Regions from separate parts of the Homo sapiens genome. Here regions 1 and 3 are each linked to region 2. Evidence: promoter capture Hi-C in 16 types of primary human blood cells and fetal thymus (Javierre and others, 2016). All regions are on one chromosome and are shown on one strand. The core of a region is centred on a gene start or on the middle of the fragment in contact, and the rest is flanking DNA. Distances in the headings are between cores, read along the strand shown.

Evidence for each region. Contacts are between HindIII fragments. The CHiCAGO score rates a contact against its expected background, and 5 or more counts as called.
Region 1: a contact is called between a fragment that was not itself captured here and the fragment with the promoter of SYT15 in region 2, in 2 of 17 cell types (total B cells and naive B cells). The highest score is 9.8, in total B cells.
Region 3: a fragment that was not itself captured here is called in contact with the fragment with the promoter of SYT15 in region 2 in 5 of 17 cell types (total B cells, non-activated CD4 T cells, naive CD8 T cells and 2 more); the score reaches 9.5 in total B cells.

What each region holds. Positions count from the first base shown.
Region 1 is chr10:45,232,326-45,235,865 of GRCh38, forward strand. It overlaps the pseudogene CUBNP2. Among named protein-coding and RNA genes, the nearest start is that of MIR3156-1, 70 kb to the left of the region's middle. The HindIII fragment of the contact is 8,662 bases long and covers 1-3,540 here.
Region 2 is chr10:46,577,553-46,581,386 of GRCh38, forward strand. SYT15 (synaptotagmin 15) reads left to right here and starts at 1,576. Exons shown (of 8, transcript NM_031912.5): 1 at 1,576-1,623; 2 at 2,612-2,816; 3 at 3,342-3,484. The coding sequence starts at 1,617. RefSeq lists enhancers at 1,441-2,318, 2,319-3,198. The HindIII fragment of the contact is 10,756 bases long and covers 1-3,834 here.
Region 3 is chr10:45,213,622-45,217,762 of GRCh38, forward strand. It overlaps LOC105378283 (a long non-coding RNA gene), which reads right to left. Exons shown (of 6, transcript XR_001747443.2): 3 at 2,036-2,153. Among named protein-coding and RNA genes, the nearest start is that of MIR3156-1, 52 kb to the left of the region's middle. The HindIII fragment of the contact is 188 bases long and covers 2,557-2,744 here.

The sequences.
Region 1 (3,540 bases), core at 568-3,067, 1.3 Mb before region 2:
GGAAAATGGGGAAGGACTGCTAGTGGGTACAGGGTTTCTTTTGGGGAGTAATGAAAGTGTCCCAAAATTGGCTGTGCTGATAATGGCCACACAACTCTGTGAATCTACTAAAGACCACTGAATTGTATACTTTAAGGAGGTGAATTGCATGGTATGTAAATTGTATGTATGGAAATGTATGGTATGTAAATTATACCTCAATAAAACTGTTATCGAAAAATTTGAACTTCTTATTCAAGTTCTTACTGCAAATTTAATTTTTCTTAAAGAAACATATGTAAGTGAAATGATCACACTAAGTAAAATATGCTATTTTCATCCTCAATGTTTATAGCTTCCTCTTGGGATTTATTTTCATATACTTCTGTGGAACAGTGTGTGTTTGTCTGTGTGTTGAGGGGAATAGATGGGTCCCCGTTTTCTCTCACTTTCTGTTCATTCATTTGGCAAATATTGATCAAGTCACTGCCACACTGCAGGTATTGTTTTTAGTACTAGGGATATTAAAAAATGAGCAAAACAGGCAAAAAGCCCTGCTCTCATGATGCCCACATTACTGGGTTTTCCTGCCTCAGCCCCACCCCAAGTCATCAAAACACAGACTTATTTCCAAGATACTCACTAATTCAAGTGAGTATAGATTTTTTTCTGTAAGAGATATATCAAGGTATATGCAATATTTTTATTCCTATGCATGTCTACTTTTTACCTCCACTTTAATCTGCTTCCAAATTTCAACAACTTCTTTTATATTGACAAACTAGTATGGACAGTCAACAGAAGTTTTAGAATCTCCTTTGATTCTCCTTGTTTTTCCCATTATTCTTTCATTTGCTTGATGTTCATATTCTGTAGTTGCAAGGGATAGAGGATTTCCCTGTGAACAATGGTATTTACCATAACACAAAATATCTCCCAAATCAGGGGATGGTTTGTATTTATATTAGCAAAATAAGGAGCCACCTCTGTATGTAAATTGTATGTATATAAATGTAAGTTTACATTTTACATACATATTTACATGCATATTTACATACATACAAAAGTTGAATTGTATACTTAAGGAGTATATATAAAAAAGTATATGACTTTTGTATGTGAATATGCATGTAAATATGTATGTATGTAAAATGTAAAAGTTGTATGTATGTAAATATTAGCAAAATATTACAACTTACAAAAAGTTACATACTTACAAAAAGTTGTAAGTATGTAAATATTAGCAAAATAAGAGCTACCTCTCTATGTAAATTGACTATTTTATACTTATGTTTTACTTTTTTAAATTTATGTTTAACATTTATAAAGTGTTAAATCAGTGGTACCTTTAAGGAAAAAAACAATTACACATGAAATTATATCTACATTTATAAAAGAAAATGTAAAACTGGGAAAATACTGTAAACACCAACAGTTTAAAAATTGATGTATCTCGCTATATATTACAGCTTAACGCGGCACTGGATTAAATGGCAATCACTTCTCTCAGTGACTCAGTTTTCTTTTATCTGCAAAGTCCAGGATATACTTGTTCTTTCCACCTTACGGGATTGTCACTGTGGGGATCAAATGGGGTTATATGTTTGCAAGCCACTGAAAACCATGCCCACAAAAAAAAAAAAACCTGTCAATATAAAGTCATGATATTGTTAAAATTGTCTCTTTTCCTCCCTTTTGAAATGTTTGTAAATTTCAATTCAATGTCTAAGAGCTGGTTAGCTTCTAAATCTGATGTGTGGCACATTTACTGGGGTCTCTGTCTGTGGGCCTTCTGTGCAACCCCGTAATACAGTATCTGCTGGTCCTGCGATCACCATTTCTCACCAAGTAATGTAACTCCGTGTATAAAGATATCACTAACAAAAAGTTTATTAAGTGTTGTCTGTAGTTGCAAAAAGTTCAAGAGACCTAAATGTCCACTTAGAGGGGCTTCGTTAAATAAATTAGGCTGCACTTATGCAATGGAATACTCTCCAAAAACTAAATACGATGCACCAGTGTTTTTATTAAGATAAGATATTAATGATGTATTGGTAAGTGGAAAAAACACAACATCAAACAGTAAAAAATATGCATGTAAAATATATGCAAAGATATTCAAAGAAAGGTGTTAAGAATATATGAGAATGCTAGGGTGTTAGAAAAATTAGTCTATTTTCTGATACTTCTGAAAATAGCATTTATCAATTTTATAAATAATATATTTTAAAAAACCATCTAGATTTCCAGCTGATATAATTCTCTGTCTAGTTTGATTACAAAGCCTAAGTGATTAAAGAGCAGAAAAATTAGAAACAGATACCCACTTGCCAGCAGCCACTTTTCCCTTACTTACTCTCTTGTTTTTTGAGACAGAGTCTGGCTCTGTCGCCCAGGCTGGAGTGCAGTGGCGCAATCTCGGGTCACTGCAACCTCCACCTTCTGGGCTCAAGCGATTCTCCTGCCTCAGCCTACTGAGTAGCTGGGATTATAGGCGTGTGCCACTATGCTGGCTAATTTTTGTATTTTTAGTAGAGATGGGGTTTCCCTATGTTGGCCAGGCTGATCTTAAACTCCTGACCTCAAGTGATCCAACTGCCTGGGCCTCCCAAAGTGTTGGGATTACAGGTGTGAGCCCATACTCTCTTTAAGTATCTACTTGCACATAAAATGAGAGGACCGTAAGCACAGATGCCTGCAATATTGAATCAACATCAGATTCTGAGTTGTTGTTTGTAAAGCCCTGATATGAGCTTTACAAAAACAAACTATCAGTCACCATTTCTTCAAAGAATTCCTGCAATTTTCAGCAAGAAGTAGATAAAATAGAGCCAGGTGTCCAAATGTTCTATAGTTTTATTTATGCAGAAATAAACATGGGTATTCAACCCTAGGCGGTGCACTGACGTCACAGAGGGAGCTTTTAAAAAACAGCATGCTGTGGCTCCTCCCCGGGAAATCCTGATTCAATAGGTTTCAGTGGGAACTGGAAGTCTAATGTAAGTAACTCCACAGGTGATTCTGAAGCAGAGCTGATTTTGGTAACTATTAATAGTAATTTAATGCAATGCCCACCAGATGGCACTCATGCTCCGAGAATAGAAAGGCAAGTCGGAAAACTGCTCAATTTGTTAAAGGCTGTGCTTTGTACTCTGCATGTGTCTGCCTTTAAAAGCCTACACCAGGCCGGGCGCAGTGGCTCACGCCTGTAATCCCAGCACTTTGGGAAGCCAAGGTGGGCGGATCACCTGAGGTCAGGAGTTCAAGACCAGCCTGGGCAACATGGCGAAATCCCGTCTCTACTAAAAGTACAAAAATTAGCCGGGCGTGGTGGCAGGCCCCTGTAATCCCAGCTACTCACGAGGCTGAGGCAGGAGAATTGCTTGAACCTGGGAGGCGGAGGTTGCAGTGAGCTGAGGTTGTGCCCCTGCACTCCAGCCTGGGTGACAAGAGCGAGACTCTGTCTCAAAAAAAAAAAAAAAAGTCTACATTAAGTGACTCATTGTCTAAACATAACAAATGGGAATATAAAATGTTTGTTCTACTCACGCCTCTGCAGTA
Region 2 (3,834 bases), core at 326-2,825:
CCATTTCCTGAGACACCTGCTCCCACAGCGACCTGGGGTAAGCAGAAGTGGGGGAGGATTCTCCAGACACCCCAGACTGTCTCCAAGTAGAGCGGAGATCTCGCCAGTTAAGCGCACAGCTGAGGACAGTTACTGGGTGAAGTGGCCTGGGTCTCCGCCTTCTCATGCCCCCACCGCCCAGACCCTAGAAGGGGAGTGGCTGCGGCCTCTGCACCCTGGCGCTGAGGGCTCCCAGACCCGGCCCAGTGGGGCACCCCAGTTCACCACCCTCCTCGCCTTAGGTGAGCCAAAGCCCAGGCAGGGTGGAGCCTCACGCACACTGACTGCCCCCTAGGACAGGCACAGGTGACGCGGGGGTGTGGGACCCAGGCTATGACTCTGGACATAACCTTCAAGGCTGTAAAACGAGAAGGTCCATCCCCCCAAAACACGCACTCCCCCACAACCACCCCCTCCCCCCCCCCACACACACACACTCCCCTGCACCACAGATACACACATTCCTTTCGCTCCCCACTCAGACGCCTCGAGGCCTCGGCGGGGGAACCATAGGGGCGCGACCAGGGCGCGCCGAGGTGTGACCAGAGAGGACACGCAGCGACCTTACTCCCGCCTTTCCCGCAAGGCGCGTTCGCCAGCCTGGACTAGTGGGCACGGGCCCTGCGTTCTAATAATCACCATAATAATAGGCGCTGGGTGTACAGAGGGGACCCAGGCGACGCTGGCCTCCATCCGATAACCACCGTAACAGGGGCTGGGCCGCGCCGCTCCTCCGCTCTAAGTGCTCTTTACATGCTTCTTAAGTTACCGGCAGGCCAGCCGCCCTTACGAGAGCCCCTCACGGACATTAACCCAATTGAGAAGACTGAACCCAGCTTACGAACGTTAAGTTGTCCCAAATCGCAGGGCTGGCGAGTGAGGAGCCTGAATTGGAACCCAGGAGCTTCTGGAACCCGCTCCAGAATTGCGCTCTCGACCGGTTTGTCCGCTGAGAGCGAACGGGTGCGCGAGCGCCGCATCCCTGCCCAAGGCCATCAGGCAGGCAGCGCTGGGGCCGGGGACCCGCGCGGAGACTCCACCCCGGGATCCGGGAAGGCTCCCCCGAGCCGGGGTCGGAGCTGCGGCTGGAGGGGCCTCGGCTTGAGGAGGATCTGGGAGGGCGGGGGCTCAGTCCTGGCCACCAGGTGTGAGGGGTCGGGTGCGGAGCCCTGTGTCAGACGCGGCGGTGAAGGCTGTAGCCCTGCTCTCCGGGATGGGGGTGGTACTCTCACCCCACCCTGCCCCAAGCCGCAGGGAGCCCCTGGCGCCCCTGGCGCCCGGGACCCGCCCTGGCTGGAGCCCTGCGGTTTCCGGGAGCTCACGGTCGGCTCTGCGCCCCTCCACCGCCGGGCCTGGGCCTGGGCCAGGGACGGGCTGGGGCGGGACTGCGGCCTCGGGGCGCTGGGTCCCTGCCCCTGCCGTGCACTGCGCGGCTCCCCGCGCCGCAGCTGGGCACCAGCAGCACCACGGACCGCCCCTGTGCTCGCCCGACGGCGCCCCGCGGCGCTTTAAGAGACGGCCTGGCAGCCCAGCCCCAGCCGCCCAGACCGGCGAGACCAGCCTGCGGGAGCAGCCCCATGGCGGGTAAGCGAGCCTCGCCTCCCCAGCCCAGCCCCGGCCCCTCTGCGACCCTTCCAGCACTTGCCTCCGCCCCGCCGCCCCCGCTGGGGTGCAGCGCCTGCCCTGCCCGGCCTCGGCGCGCTCTTGGAGGGGCACTGGGATGGAGTAGACGCTGAGGCCCGCTCTTCGCGGTCAGTTGCGGCTTAGGAGGTGTGGGGGGTCCGGCCTTCTCACCACCCCACCCAGTGCAGATCCCTGAGACCTGAATGCCCCGCGGCCGCACGTCACCCTAAGGGAGGCACCTTTTTGGCCCGCCCCAGGTGGCCAGCGGTTGGAACCCAGCGTCTGAGCACCCCCGGGGCGAAGCCTCCTAGGTCCCGCAAATGCGGACGTGTGAGGGCCAGCAGCAACGGGGTCTTGCCCCCTTTTCCTCCCCACCTCGTCCACCGCGTCGCACCAACTCCCCTAAGCGCGTGCTCACCTTGATAGAGGGCTAGGGGAGGGAGCGGGTGTTAGAGAAGAGTCCAGCCTTGCAGCAGGTTCCAGGGCCCCAGAGGGTAGAGGTTTGATTGCAGACCAGGGGGAAGGTACCTTTCAGGGCTTTCCTTAACTGACTGCGTCCACACCCCAGCTCCCCTCCTGGCCTCAACAGGAGCCCAGGGGATATGGAGGTTCTGGTGAGGGCAGGTTTGATTTCTACTCAGAAGCGCAAGGAAATGGCTTCTTTAAGCCAGAATCCCAAGGGCAGGGCCAGCTGTTTTCCAAGGAAAACTAGAAGGTTCTGCCCAGGGCTCTCAGACCCTGGGGTAAACGGCTTCTCCTCTGAGAGCTGGCGGAACCTAGCCAGCAGCATCCCTCCCGGAACCCATCCCCAGCAGGCCTGCTCCTATCACTCCTGAGATCAAACCCAGAGGCAGGGTTGCTGCCCTAGTTCTGCCCCAGCAGGCCAGGGCTGTGAGGGAGAGTGGCTTTCCCAGGCAGGCATCATAGTACTGGTGGTCTCTGCCCCCAGAGCAGCTGGCCCTGGTGATTGGGGGCACCATCGGGGGGCTGCTGCTGCTGCTGTTGATCGGGGCAAGCTGCTGTCTGTGGAGAAGGTTCTGTGCCACCCTCACCTATGAGGAGCTGCCTGGGACACCAGCCATGGCCACCACAGCTGCCTCCAGTGGGCAGCGGGACAGGCCCTGCCAGCCGCATGCTAGGACCCAACTGAGCAGGTGAGGCAGGATGTGGGGCCAAGTGCGCCCCTGGAATTTCCCTCAGGGTGGGGTCGAAAAGGAAAGTTCTGTTTATGGGGGTGCCTCTTCTATGCTGCTTCGGTGCTGGGAGCTATCACAAAGAAACCCCAGAAACCTCACATCAGCTATTAGGCAGGTGTTATGAAACCCATGTTCCAGGTGAGGAATCTGAGGCTCAGTGCACATAAGCAACAGGTCCAGAGAACACAATTAGTAAGTGGCAGAACAGGAATCCAAACCCAGACTGGCTGACACTGTCAGGTGCTGTGTTCCTTCTTCAAATCCCACTGCTGTGTGTGTGTGTGTGTGTGTGTGTGTGTGTGTGTGTGCGTGTGTGTGTGTGTGTGTTGCCTGGTATGGGCCCAGAAAATGGTGCCCTGGCCTCCTCCTGGCTCCCGATGGCTTTTCTTCCTCCAGCCCCTGGTGCTCAACCGTCCTGGCTGAGCGCTCTGAGACCACACCATTGACTTGCCACCTACATGTTGTCTCCCTGACTCTGGACAGGCCACCAGCTGTGCCATTCGTGGTGCCCCCAACCCTTCAAGGCCGAGATTGGGTGCCCCTGCACAGTGGAGAGTGGGCCGATGCCCCATGGGACCCCTGCCCGGCATCAGAGCTGCTGCCTCACACCTCCAGCGGCGGCCTTGGTGAGTGTCCTTGCCAGGGCTGCCCAGAGGTCAGGGTCTGCTCGGGTGGCCCCATCTGCTTTCACCAGCTTGGCTCCGGAACACAACCTGAACCAGCCAGGGATGCCAGGGACCACCCAGGGACCACTCTTTCTGGGTGCTTTCATTTATGAAGTGCTTGCTGCACCCCATGAGGGTAAGATATGGCCTTGGGTGCTGATTTGGAGTGAGACCTCACCATGACTCTGAGGGGGAGGAATTATCACCCCATTTTACATAGTCTTAACTGAGGCTGTAAGCAACAGATTGGAATTGGAACCCAGGCACGCCATGTACAGAACTTGTGCTGGGTCCCACTCTAGGATGATGGG
Region 3 (4,141 bases), core at 1,401-3,900, 1.4 Mb before region 2:
TCACAACTTTTAGCCAAAATCATATTGGAAGTCTTAGTTAATGCAGTAAGAAAAAGCAGAAAAATGTATGCAGATAGGGAAGGATGAATTAAAACTGTCTTTATCCACAGATAATATGATGTCTACATAGAAAATCCCAAATCATCAACAAAAAAGAACTGAAACTAATAAACAACTACAGCAAGGTTGCAGGATACAAGGTTATATACAAAGACAACTGCTTTTCTATATAATTAGAATTTTAAATTAAAAACATATCATTTACATTAACACCAAACAAATGAAATAGTAAGATATATAGCTAACAAAATATGTACAAGATCTATATGAGAAAAGTTTCAAAACTAGTATGAAACAAATCAAAGACCTAAATAAACTGTGAGATAGCCCATGTTCATGAATAGGAAGACCCAACATTGTTACAATGTCAGTTCTTCCCAAGTTGATCTACATATCAATTCCAGTCAAAATACCGGAAAGTTTATGGATATCAACAAACTGATCCTAAAATTTACATGGAAAGGCAGAACAGCCAATGCAATATTGAAGAAAATACAATTGCAGCATTGACACTGCCCAACTTCAAAACTTAGAGTATGGTATTGGTGAAACAATAGACAAATAGATCACTGGAATAAAATAGCCCAGAAATAGACCACACTAATACAATCAACTAATCTTTAGCAGAAGTGCAAAGGCAATTCAGTGGGAAAAGGAGTCTTTTCAACAAATGATGCTGAAACAGATGGACATCAACACACACAAAAATCAATCTAGACAAAGACCTAACACCTTTCACAAAAATAAACTCAAATCACAGACCTATTATATAAAACACAAAGCTATCAAAATTTCTAGATATAACAAAGGAGAAAATCTAGTTGACCTGAGATTTGGCAATGACTTCTTAGATACAATACCAAAGGCACAACTTATGAAGGAAAAACTTGATAAGTGGGACTTCATTATATTTAAAAATTTCTGCTCTGTGAAAGATATCATTAGGGAAAAGAAAGACCAACTCAAACAAGGAGAAAATATTCGCAACACACATACCTGATAAAGAACTGGTATCCAAAATATGTAAAGACGACTTAAAACTCAACAACAAAGAACCCAATTAAAAAGTACATAAAAGATCTGAATGAACATCTCACCAGAGAAGATATACATATGGCAAATAAGCATATGAAAAGATGCTCAGCATCATATAGTCACTAGGGAATTGCAAATGGAAACAATGAGATACTACTGCATACCCACTAGAATGGCTAAAATCCAAAACACCACCACCACCAAATGCTGGTGAGGATGTGGAACAACAGAAAATCTCATTCTTTATTGGTAGAATGCAAAATAGTACAGCCACTTGAGATGACAGTTTGATAGTTTCTTCCAAAGCTAAACATAGTCTTATCACATGATCCAGTAATCACATTCCTAGGTATTCACCCAAAATCTGCACAAGAATGTTTACAACAGCTTTATTCATAATTGTCCAAATTTAAAAGCTGCCAAAATGTCATCCAACAGGTGAATGGATAAGCACAGTGTGGTACATCCAGACAACTGAGTATTATTCACTGCTAAAAAGAAATGAGTTATCAAACCACAAAAGGCATGGAGGAATCTTAAATGCATATTGCTAAGCAAAAGTAGCCAATCTGTAAAGACCTTATACTGTATGATTCCAACTATATGACATTCTGGAAAGGGTAAAATTATAGAGACAAAGGCAAACTGTAATATTTCAGTGGTTGTCTGAGATTTAGGAGGTAGATAATGAGGGAGAGGGGATGAAGAGGTAGAGCTGAGAGGATTTTTAGGGCAGTGAAACTGTTCCATATGATACTGTAATGGTGAATACATGATGTTAATTTGTCAAAACCCATAAAACTATACTATATAGAGTGAATCTTGATGTTAGCTATAAACTTTAGTTAATAATAATGCATCAACAGCCAGGCCAACATGGTGAAACCCCGTCTCTACTAAAAATCAAAAAAAAAAATGAGCTGGGCGTGATAGCGCATACCTGTAATCCCAGCTACTTGGGAGGCTGAGGCAGGAGAATCACTGGAACCTGGGAGGCAGAAGTTGTAGTGAGCCGAGATCGCACCATTGCGCTCCAGCCTGGGTGACAGAGCGAGACGCTGTTTCAAAAATAAAAATAAAAACAATAATGCATCAATATTGGTTCAGCAATCATAGCAAATGTAACACACCAATGCAAGATGTTAATATGGAAAACTAGGAAGGGGAGATGGAGGAGAGATGTGAATCTGTACTTCCTGCTCCAGTTCTCTGTAAATCAAAAAGTGCTCTTAAAAAAAAAGCCTATTTTTTTTCAAAGAGGGAGAATGAAGATAGCATATGCATAAAACAATTGTTTTTAGCAATACTGACATTAGTAAAATTAGTATTGTTAATTGTGTGTTGGGTACCAAACACGTGATTGTGAGATGTTCTAATTCTATCATCACCAAAATCTGTGAGAGGCAGGGTTCTGAGAGGAAGGGAGAAGGCCCAGATGAGGCATAGAAGGAGTTAAATAAAAGCTTTGCAGTCTGTTATGTATTTCCATTGGAACTACCAGTATAAGCTCACGATGCTGGCAGTCTCATGACTTAAAGGGAGAGTGATTGGGAAGAGCAGGAGCTCCCAACCTACTAACGTTTCTTGCTTTGAAAATCTGTCAACTTGTACTGTCATATATGCACTTATCTATGTGAATACTTCAGTAAAGCTTTTTGGAGTAGGATTTTTTAAAAACTATGTGTAAGTATTTTCAGAAGATGAAGGTTCCTGTTTCCTTGGTTCAAATGGTATCAAGATAGGTAGGTTGCGTCCCTGAATGCATTCCTAAATTGATACAGAATCATTAGCCCAGACAGGGTAGCTACCATAGCTTCTAGAACATGACCAGATGGCCACAGGCACTCAGCGTGCTCGCTGAATTAGCTGTTCATCTTCTTCTCTTCCACAGGGTATGTGTATATGACTGTCAGAAATGAGTAAGGCGAAACAGGATAAGCTAAGAACACTGCTTCTGAAGTCTGCTGGTGTGGGTTCAAATCTGGGCTCTACCACTTATTTTCTGGGTGACTTTGAGCAAGTTAATGAAGCTCTCTAAATCTGTTTCCTTACCTATTAGATAATAACAATTAAACTGTGAGGTTTGAAAGATTAATCCATACAGAGGGCTTAGCACAATGCCTGGGACATAGTAAATGTGTGTGTGTATTAATACACCCCATGCATATATGGCATGTTATTTCGATCATATTATCTATTATTTTCATCCTCCTAACAAAGGGTGAACAACTTTATAGAATACAAATATATAATAAATCATATAGGTATCTTTGACACGGCCTAAAGACTTAAGCACTTACAGCTGTTTTATTATTTGTTCATTTATTTTGAAACAGAGTCTCACTCTTGTCACCCAGGTTGGAGTGAAATGGCGTGATCTTAGCTCACTGTAGCCTCCATCTCTCGGGTTCAAGTGATTCTCCTGTCTCAGCCTCCCAAGCAGCTCGGATTACAGGCATGGGCCATCATGCACAGCTAATTCTCATATTATTAGTAGAGACGGGGTTTCACCATGTTGGTCAGGGTGGTCTCAAACTCCTGACCTCAGGTGATCCACCCACCTTGGCCTCCCAAAGGGCTGGGATTGCAGGTGTGAGCCACTGCACCCGGCCTCACTTACAGCTGTTAAGAAAACCAAGTTACATAGACTACCATTCAAATATTGAGATTGCAAACCATATTACCATTCTCTGGTCTGCACTATGTCCTGAAAAACCATGAGGCCAAACCCCCGTTGCAAGTAATTGCCCGTTCTGATGTGTGCCTTTCATTTGACCTCACCCTTAAAATTATAAGCTACACAGAGTCCAAAGGAATAATTAATGTATATGCAGAGAAATAGATGAAATAAAAAGGATATTTATGAGGTATGGGTACTATAACTAAAACTACCATTTAATGTAATTCGCGTTTATTCTGTTTGATACATGAACCAATATTTCCCCAACACAATCTTTTCCAGCACCATACTTGGTACTGTTTTAAGCTAATGTTCTAAGTTTGAAGACAGAAGAAAATGAATTAATATATGGTATAAAAAGATCTC